Regions from separate parts of the Homo sapiens genome. Here regions 1 and 2 are each linked to region 3. The links are contacts of gene promoters, found by promoter capture Hi-C in human tissues and cell types (Jung and others, 2019). All regions are on one chromosome and are shown on one strand. Each heading gives the region's core, a stretch centred on a gene start or on the middle of the fragment in contact. The rest is flanking DNA. Distances are from core to core; before and after follow the strand shown.

The links. Contacts are between HindIII fragments. The study calls those that stand out against the background at their distance.
Region 1: a contact is called between a fragment that was not itself captured here and the fragment with the promoter of BPIFA3 in region 3, in 2 of the 25 tissues and cell types used here (H1 embryonic stem cells and pancreas).
Region 2: a fragment that was not itself captured here is called in contact with the fragment with the promoter of BPIFA3 in region 3 in 3 of the 25 tissues and cell types used here (H1 embryonic stem cells, lymphoblastoid cells and neural progenitor cells).

Annotation. Positions count from the first base shown.
Region 1 is chr20:33,133,147-33,136,273 of GRCh38, reverse strand. No RefSeq gene overlaps it. Among named protein-coding and RNA genes, the nearest start is that of BPIFA2, 33 kb to the left of the region's middle. The HindIII fragment of the contact is 6,794 bases long and covers 1-3,127 here.
Region 2 is chr20:33,103,481-33,106,528 of GRCh38, reverse strand. BPIFB4 (BPI fold containing family B member 4) reads right to left here. Exons shown (of 18, transcript NM_182519.3): 16 at 1,656-1,719. Among named protein-coding and RNA genes, the nearest start is that of BPIFB4, 25 kb to the right of the region's middle. The HindIII fragment of the contact is 8,468 bases long and covers 1-3,048 here.
Region 3 is chr20:33,215,540-33,218,735 of GRCh38, reverse strand. It overlaps BPIFA3 (BPI fold containing family A member 3), which reads right to left and starts at 1,384. Exons shown (of 7, transcript NM_178466.5): 1 at 1,073-1,384. The coding sequence starts at 1,199. The HindIII fragment of the contact is 14,641 bases long and covers 1-3,196 here.

The sequences.
Region 1 (3,127 bases), core at 256-2,755, 83 kb after region 3:
AACGGGAAAATCTGAGCTCTCGCTTGAAGGATGCTGATGAAGCTCTGAATGTGTGGCCCTCATGCAGGGCGGTGACACATGCTAGAAAGAAAGGGTCCAGGCCTCAGGTTGCTGAGGGATGGAGGCTCCAGCAGGATCCCCTCAGGCCACCCTGCAGACGGAGTGGGGAGCCTTGGGCACAGCCAACGCACAGGCCAGGGGGAATTGTTTGCTGCCAGAGTGCACCCCAGCAGGGAGGGCAAGAGAGAGGAGAAGCCTGGGTTCCTGAACCAGATTTTTCCATTTTTTTTCTAATTTTTCATTAAAAATAGATGTAGGAGTTATCTGTGCAGTTTATTATATGGATATATTGCACATAACAAATGGTGCAATGGACCAGGTGTGGTGGCTCACGCCTGTAATCCCAGCACTTTGGGATGCCGAGGCAGGTGGATCACCTGAGGACAAGAGTTCGAGACAAATGGTGCAATGGTGCAGTTTAGGCTTCCAATGTACCCATCACCCTAATAGTGAACATTGTACCCAATAGGTAATTTTCCCCCCTCACTCCCCTTCCCCATTCCCCCCTTTTGGAGTCCTCAGTGTCTATTATTTCCCTCTCTATGCCCTTTTGTACCCATTCTGAACCGGGTTTAGTGTGATGTAGAAAAACAGATAAATTTGCTAGAAAGCTGACACAGGCAACAACATAGGGGGATCTCACAGACATGACATTGAACAAAAGAAGCCAGCTACAGAATCGCTCACACTGTATGGCTCTTTCTGTGAATTTCAGGAGCAGACAGTACTTGCCCACAGAGATAGAGGTCAGAAGAGGGGTCACCTCTGGGGGCAGGTACTGACTGCAGTGGGGCAAAAAGGGGCTCTTTCTGGGTATTGGGAAAGTCCTGTCCCTTGATCTGGGTGGTGGTTGCAAGGGTGCACACATAAGCAAAAACCTGTCTTTCTTACTGCATCTTTTACTGTATACAACTGAAACCTCCATTTAAAACACGTGGAATAGGCTGGGCAGGGTGGCTCACGCCTCTAATCCCAGCACTTTGGGAGGCCGAGGTGGGCAGATCACCTGAGGTTAGGAGTTCGAGACCAGGCTGGCCAACATATGGTGAAACCTCGTTTCTACTAAAAATGCAAAAATTAGCTGGGTGTGGTGGCACACATCTGTAGTCCCAGCTACTTGGGAAGCTGAGGCAGGAGAATGGCTTGAACCCAGGAGGCGGAGGTTGCCGTGAGCCGAGATGGCAACACTGCACTCCAGCCTGGGTGACAGAGCAAGACTCTGTCTCTCAAACAAACAAACAAACAAACAAACAAAAACATGGAATAAAGAAAAAAAGAAAGACTACAGTGGGAAGGAGGACACTCCTTGCCCCTTAAGGGCTGGGAGGTCGTATCAATTACCTTGATGACCCCGTCATGGTTTTTACACCATGTTTCATTGGCTTGAAGACATATCTTTTTCTCATTTTACTCTCTTGGAAATCAGAATGCATCTTACCATCAACGTGTTTAGGTAACAGTGTGTTTTTTTTCTTGCTAGTACATAGAAAAGAGTGGCGTGTTTTACAGCCAATGGCATTCTTTCCATGTCTGCTCTAGAACCCTACAGACAAAGTAGGCGGAAATTCTCTCTTCTCAGAAATTGGACAGAGAAATGGAACGACAACAACTATTGTTTGCAAACACTCAACTTACCCATCACCCCCGTGAATGGCTCCTCACGCGGCTTCCCCCCTGCAGAGTATGGGCATGAACTCGTTTCTGGAAGTGAGGGTGCTCCCTTCTCACCTGGGACCTGTGCACACAAAGCAGTTGTGCAAAGCAGGGACCCTGTTCTCTTCGGGGCTAATGGGGGAGCCCATAGAGTGATGACGACAACATTTTCTAAGCGCCAGGCCCTGTACACAGCACTCCTGCACCATCTCTTTGAGTCCTTATGTCCCTGCCCCCAGGTAGGAGCTTTTCTTAGTCATGTTAGACAGATTACAATTTTCTGCCGCTGATGAAATTATTATTATTATTATTTTGGAGATGGAGTCTCACACTGTTTTCTGGGCTGGAGTGCAGTGGAACAATCTCAGTTCACTGCAATCTCCACCTCCCAGATTCAAGCAATTCTCCTGCCTCAGCCTCCGGAGTATCTAGGACTACAGTCGCCCACCACCACACCCGTCCAATCTATGTTTTTAGTAGACACAGAGTTTCACCATGTTGTCCAGGCCGGTCTCGAACTCCTGACCTCAGGTGATCTGTCTGCCTCAGCCTCCCAGAGCGCTGGGATTACAGGCGTGAGTCACTGTGCCTAGCTGGAATAATTATTTTTGATTATCAGAGCAAGAAATTTTGTCCCCAAAATTAACGGCATTGTCTTAAAAAGGACCACAGACGAGCAAAATAAACACAAAACATCCATGAGCTGACATGGTTTGGGTCCCTGGCTGAGTGGGCTTTGGTTCTCCCTCAGGTCGGGCATCGGCTGTTTGACAGACATAATATACAAAAGACCGAGGGTGCCCATTTTGCAGATCTGGAAATTGAGGCCCTTGGGTTCCCTGGCAGGTCAGTGACAAAGCCAGGACTGGGACCCAGGGCTCCAACTCTTTCCTCCTCATCACCTGCGCATTCCCCAGGGCTCTGAGAGCAGGGAGGGCAGGGTCCTTACCTAGGATGTGGTTCCGGCCACCCAAGACCGGTGGGACTCCTGCATCTGCCTCCGGAGTAAGATCCAGGAGCAGAGGGAAGCTTAAGTTGCAGGTAGGCAGGCCAAGTGGGGGCCGGGGCCAGGGGTGGGCAGAGGCTTGAGAGGCCTGAGCAGGGCTCCTGGAGCACCAGTCACTCTGGCTGACACCAGGACGGAGGTGGGGAGGGCATCCAGGGCCCTGCCCTGGAACCCTGAGGGGAATGAGGCCATAAGTCATCTGGGCTGGCAACTTTGGGAGGAGTGTGACTTCCTGAAGCCACTGCGAGTCCATGTATGTTCTGGTGTGTGTCTGTGTCTGTGTGTGCTTTTGTGCAGGTGCCTGTGTGTGTCTGTGTGGACTGCATCTGTGCATGTAACTGTATGTGGCTTTGTGTGTGTGTACGTGTGTGCACTTGTCTGTATGTCTCTTGGGGGGCGGGTCTCTGT
Region 2 (3,048 bases), core at 456-2,955, 110 kb after region 3:
TGGTGGTGCACAGCTGTAATCCCAGGTACTCGGGAGGCTGAGGCAGGGGAGTCTCTTGAACCTGGGAGGCAGAGGTTGCAGTGAGCCGAGATCGTGCCACTGTACTCTAGCCTGGGCCACAGAGTGAGACTCCATCTCAAAAAAAAAAAAAAGAAAGAAAAGAGCTGTGTCCCCAGCATCACCCAGCCCTTCGCCCAGTCATAGAGGAGATGGCAAATGTTTGCCGAGTGAAGTAATGGAAAGTGCACGTGGAGCCCTAGCCATTGACTCTGCCGTGGGATGTGCTGTTTGTTTTCAGATTGTCAGAGCCTAAGTAAACCTGCTAATTACTGTTCTAGAAAGAGAGCAGGAAGAGAGAAAAAGAAGTGGGGTAGGAAAGAGTGGATGGGGGAAGTAAATTAAGTGAAATTTAACAGACTTCTCTATTCCAGCAGGACTTTTCAAAAAGCTAAGGACATTGTGAATCTACCCTGCAGGAGTATCTTCAGCACTTCCCAAACTTGCTCGGCCATGGAACGCTTTTTGCAGGGTATTTTGTGGGACTGCTTTACGGAGCTCACTTTGGGGACTATGGACCTTGTCCAAGCTCTCATTTTGAAAATGGTGAATTGCACTTCAGTATGATTAAAAGACTCGCCCCCAAGTTCACACCACTCTTAGTGATTAAGCCAGGCAAGACGCTCCGTCTCTTCCCTCCCAGGTCAGCCCAGCCCAGCCCCTGACCCCATCCTCTCACAGAGAAACCACCACTTTCCCCACCAGTGAGACTCGGCTTCCTCTGACCACAGGGCCCAGAACAAGGGTTTGTTTGACATCAAGATGGCTCCAACAGAACCCCCGCTGGTGTAGCTGATGACATTGGCTGGGATGTGCCAGCCCTCCTTGTCTTCTCATCCAGGAAGCAGGAGTGGGAGAGAGTCTGGGGCCCAGTGACCCCAGGGCTTGGGCAGTTTCCCAGTCCCAGTATGTGAGTAGCCAATGACCCCCATAGTTCAACAAGCAGCCTTCCCAGTAACATTCCTGAGACGCCCCAGAGAGCAAAGCAAGCTCAGTCTACTCTGTTTATAAAGTTGGGCAAGAAAACCTCCTAACTTGATGTGGTTCCCTAGGGGGGCAGATTCTGGGCTAGGAAGGAGGCTGGGGATGTCGATAAGAGCAACTTTAGCTGTATCTGCGCCAATGGAACTTTTCACAATAAGAATGTATTCCTGTAGTTCCTGTATCATTAAAAATAAATACATGTTTAAATATGAGTCAGGAAAGATCTCAATCATATGGGAAAACAATGGAGAAAAAGAGTTTAGAAGGAAATATGCTCAGATGTTGAGATTCATTGCCTCTGCGAGGTGAGTTTTTTTTAAATTGTTTTATATTTTCTAAAACTTGCACACACACAATGTTAATACATAATCGGAATTTTCATAGATAATCAGAAAAATAAAACAATCAGCCAAACAAGAAAGAAGCAAATAAGGAAGGTGCTGGAACTTTGGGGGCCACGTTTGGATTTGGAGGCTTTCATCGACACGCTTCAAAGGAAGTGCTCAGAAATACTATTGAGGTAGGATAGATGCACATCCAGCATGCCCAACAAGCCAGTATCCCCCAGTACCCAAGCCACAAGCTCCCAGAGAGGCACAGGCACCCGCTCTCACCGTTCATTGCGGGCATGAATGCCAGGTCAAAAATCTTCTCCACCAGCACCTCCATGAGGCCAATCTGCAGAGGAAGAAGGAGGACAGAGCCTGGGCAGGGGGTTTGCTCAGCTCCAGAGGGCCCCTTGGGTCTGCTCCCCTGGCTCAAGGTGGAGACACAGACCTGCTCTGGGAGAGTCTAGGTTCTGGCAGTCAGAACCCCTGAGACCCCAGAATTTCTCACCGGCAGCCTTAAGGTGCCCCCCATCAACTTGCACATTGTGCAGATGGGCAGACTGAGGCCCAGCATGGGTGGTGGCCCAAGGCCCCTATGAAGCAGGGATTGAGGGAGGCCTAGTTCCTCCCCTGGGAGGCACAGAGCACAGGTTTCAGGGTGGCCTGGCCCCGATGGCACTGTCATGGCATCACAGAAGTCCCAATGGCCCTGGAGCCAACACCCCAGGTTCCCATCCCAGCTCAGTCTCCGTGGGCCTCTGGGCAGGCTCCTTCACCTCTCTAACCCTCAGCTTCCTCAGCTGTAAAATGGGTCAGTGAGCTGAGTTTGCAAGGATGCGGTGAGGATGGTGGGTAGATCACGTAAAACTCCTGGCCTTGAGCCTTTTCATATGTTACCTCCCTTAACTTCTCTAAGCCTTGGTTTCCACATCTGAAAACAGGAGTGAGTAACCCTTGCCTCATAGGGTGGTTATAAAAATCAGACATAAGCCCCTATATGTAACATGCCTGATGTTCCAGTCTGCAGAGGGTGAGGGCATGGACTCACTTTCCGGCAGTGCCTCTTCCTAGCTCTGTTGCCTTGGGCAAGTCACTTGAGCTTACCTTCCTTATTTGGAAGAATGGGTGTAATAATAATACCCAAATCATAACACGGTGGTAAGGATTAAATGAGAAAACCTCATTAAAAGAGAAAAAAAAGCATAATTCAGTGCCTAGGGCCCATCTCGATAGCTTCATTAATTCATTAATTTTACACTGTCAGCCCCTTTCTTCACTTGGAGTCCAGAGATTTCAGTTCTAATCCCAACTCTGCCCCAACCAGCTGGGAAGCCTTGGGCAGTTTATCCTTATAAAATGAAGCTGGCAAGATCGGCTTCACAGGCTGTAGCTTTTTGGGTTAGAAAAGCTATAAAATTAGCAACACAATGAATGGGTTTGACTTTTTCTGCACATGTGGAGATCTCATCCAAGCTTGTCCCAGAAAGCTAGCAGATGCTTAGTTGTCAATTTATAAAAAGCGGAGGTGGGGGGGTGGGGAGGAAGGAGTGTTTCTGAAGCCTTAGGTGGGGGTGGGGCACCCAAGAGTGAACAAAGAGATAAAACAGGACCCAACGCTAGAATGTGAGCATCTCAGATTTCTGGACCCTTGGAAAAGCAGAATTCCACAACCCAGGGG
Region 3 (3,196 bases), core at 135-2,634:
GATAGGGCCTTTAAAGAGCTAATTAAGGTTAAACGAGGTCATTAGGGTATGGCCCTAAACTGATGGGATTGGTGTCCTTATAAGAAGAAACAGATCTCTTTCTCTGCATGCACAGAGAAAAGGCTGTATGGAGACATCGAGAAGGTGTCCGTCTGCAAGCCAGCAAGACAGGCCTCACCAGAAACCAACCCTATTTGCATCTTGATCTTGGACTTCCAGCCTCCAGAACTGTGAGAAAATGAATGTGTGTTGTTTAATTCCCAGTCTGTGGTGTCTTGTGAGGACAGCCCTAGCTGACTGATACAGCTCAGTACTCGGCAGTGCTGGGGAACATGGGGAGACAGGTATGCTCATTTCTTACTGGAGCACGTGTAGACCACACAGCCATTCTAGAGAGGATTCTGGCAGTTTTGGTTAAATTGAGTTCACCTCTACCCCAGGACCCAACCACTCTCCTTCTGGGTTTATCCCAGGGAAATTCTCCCACAGGCTGTAACAGGGACACTTGCAAGGAGGTTCATCTCAGTGTAGTTTATAATCATGGAGAGTTAGAGACAACCTGCATGTCCATCCAGAGGGGAGCAGCCAAATAAACTGAGGTGGATGAATCTTATGGCTCTTTCTGCACCAGCTGAAGCAACATAGATGTCAACAGCATAGTGCTGAGTGAAACCCAACACTATACAATTTATGTAAATTAAAGTACAATACAATTTATGTAAATTAAAGTACTGTACATACAAGGACACAGGCATATTTAAGTACATCCATTAAACACGCTGCAATGCCTGCCAAGGCAGTAGGGATATGGGGTGAGAATAAGTCATAAAGGGGGAAAATAAGAAAATAAAACAAAAGGGGGACCTTGCAGTGATTTGTGCCAATGAGGATGTGCTAGAAATTGGCATATGATCAACACAACCTCAATTTTCTGTACTTGAGGTCTAAGAAAAAGAGAAGAGGGAAAGTGACTAACCTGAAGTCACCCAGCGGGTTAGCAGTGGAGCCCAGATGGCACCTTCCCACCTCCCCAGCCCCGTAGGCAGCAGGCAGAGCCCGGGGCTTAGCTTACTTCTTGCCAGGGTGGATTTGTTGTCTCTGTGGGCTTGGGCCAGGCCAGGCCAAGGCTGCTTGTGTGGTGCCAAGGGCAAGGCCAGCAACCCGAGGAAGATGAGGAGCCTCCAGAGTGGACACATCATAGGGTCTGGGACCTGCAGATGTCAAGAGTGTCAGATGGGGCCTGGGCAGACGGCTTTGAGGGTGGCAGTCTGGAGGGATGGTCTAATGGTTTTCTGCAGAAAGATGACATCAGAATTAGCCCCCAGCATGCTGTGGGGAGGGGCTGCACTGGACCCTGGCGCTGCCACCAGGGCTTGCTCACATTGGGAGAGCAACATGTGGAACCCTGGGAGGAGGCCAGGGCTCCAGAGGGAGGCCTTGTTGCTTGGAGACACTCACCAGAGTCTATTGTTGGGTCATCCAACAGGAGTCCTCTCCCAGACCCTGGCACAGGCTGGATGTTAGTGACTCTTTAGTGAACCAATGAATGAATACATTTGAGTGAGGATGGCTAACCCCAGGCTCTCCAATTGGGTTAGGACTTTCTTAAGGGCATGACCAACCACTTCAATCCCTACCACGATACTTGCTTGTCAGAAATTGAGTGTTAATGAATGTTTGTTGAGTGACCAAACGACTGAATTGATGAGTGGAGATGGTTGATCTCTGAATCTCCTCTGAATTATGAGTTTCTTGAGGGCAGGGTATGAGTCTAATTAATCCTCATGTCTACAGTGCCTCCCATGTTTGCCACATGGTAAGTACTGGTGAATGTTTGTTAATGCTACAAATGAATGAATAACTGGATGGATGGATCTTATCTTTCTGGATAAGAATTACAGACTCTTGAAGCCAAAGCATCAGGTTGACCTTGGAGCCCTGGGGTTGGGATTCAGAGAGAATTCAGTTTAAGTCCCCTGTCCTCACTCTTAGGAAATGGTGCCAAGTCCATCTAGTTGTTCTACTCCCAGCCGGTGGAGCTGCCCTTTCCTCCCCTTTTCCCATCTCCCACAACCCATCTGTCAGGAGATCCTGCTGACACTTCCAGAACATGACCACATATAACAACTACTCCTCAGCCACCATCAGCTTGATCTGAATTATTGCCAGTGGGTCCCGGCTGGTTTCCCAGCTTTTAACTGTGCCCACCCACAATCTCTTCCACACAGCAGCCTGAACAGTCATTTTAAGATGTAAGGTAGGCCGGGTGCGGTGGCTCATGCCTGTAATCCCAGCACTTTGGGAGGCCGAAGCAGGCGTATCATGAGGTCAGGAGTTCAAGACCAGCCTGGCCAACATGGTGAAACCCCGTCTCTACTAAAAATACAAAAAATTAGCTGGGTGTGGTGGCACATGCCTGTAGTCCCAGCTACTTGTGAGGCTGAGGCAGCAGAATCACTTGAACCCAGGAGGCAGAGGTTGCAGTGAGCTGAGATCACACTACACTGCACTCTAGCCTGGCAACAGAGCAAGACTCCAACTCAAAAAAAAAAAAAAAAAAAGATGTAAGGTAGACCACCATGCCACTCCTCTGCTCAAAACCCTCCAGCATTTCCTACTGCACACAGAGCAAAAGCCACATTCCATGCAACACCTCCCAGGCCCAGGAGGGTCCCTGCATCCTCTTGGACCGCACTGCCTGCAGCTCTCTCTTCCCCACTCCACTGCAGCAGCACAGGTCTCGGATGTCTGGGCCCCACCTTGCCATTGCTGTGAGCTCTGAGACAAAGGCGTTTGTCACTGTCCCTGTGCTGTTTCCCCATACTACGGGCGACATAGAGGGTCCCATGTGGATGAGGGATGGGAACGTCCTTTGCAAATTTCACAGAAGCCTTGGGGCTATTCTTGGGCAATTCACTCTGGTTTTGTAAGAGATTGTACTGAGAAAGCCTTGGTTCAGGGTGTTGGCTTTCCCTGTTTGAGGTCCTTTCTCAGAGTTCATGCTCCCCTTGGGGATGTTTGTAGAATATCACTTACTTCAAAATGTATTTTTCTAGCCTTCCTGGTCTTATGTAAGTGGTTGGAATTTTGTTATTTATTGTCAAGAAAACAGAGAAGAGTGGGCATTGTCGGGAGGAACAAATCTGTTGTCCTTGGCTCTTTGGACATCTTAACATGGGGCAGGAGCTGTTGGTCC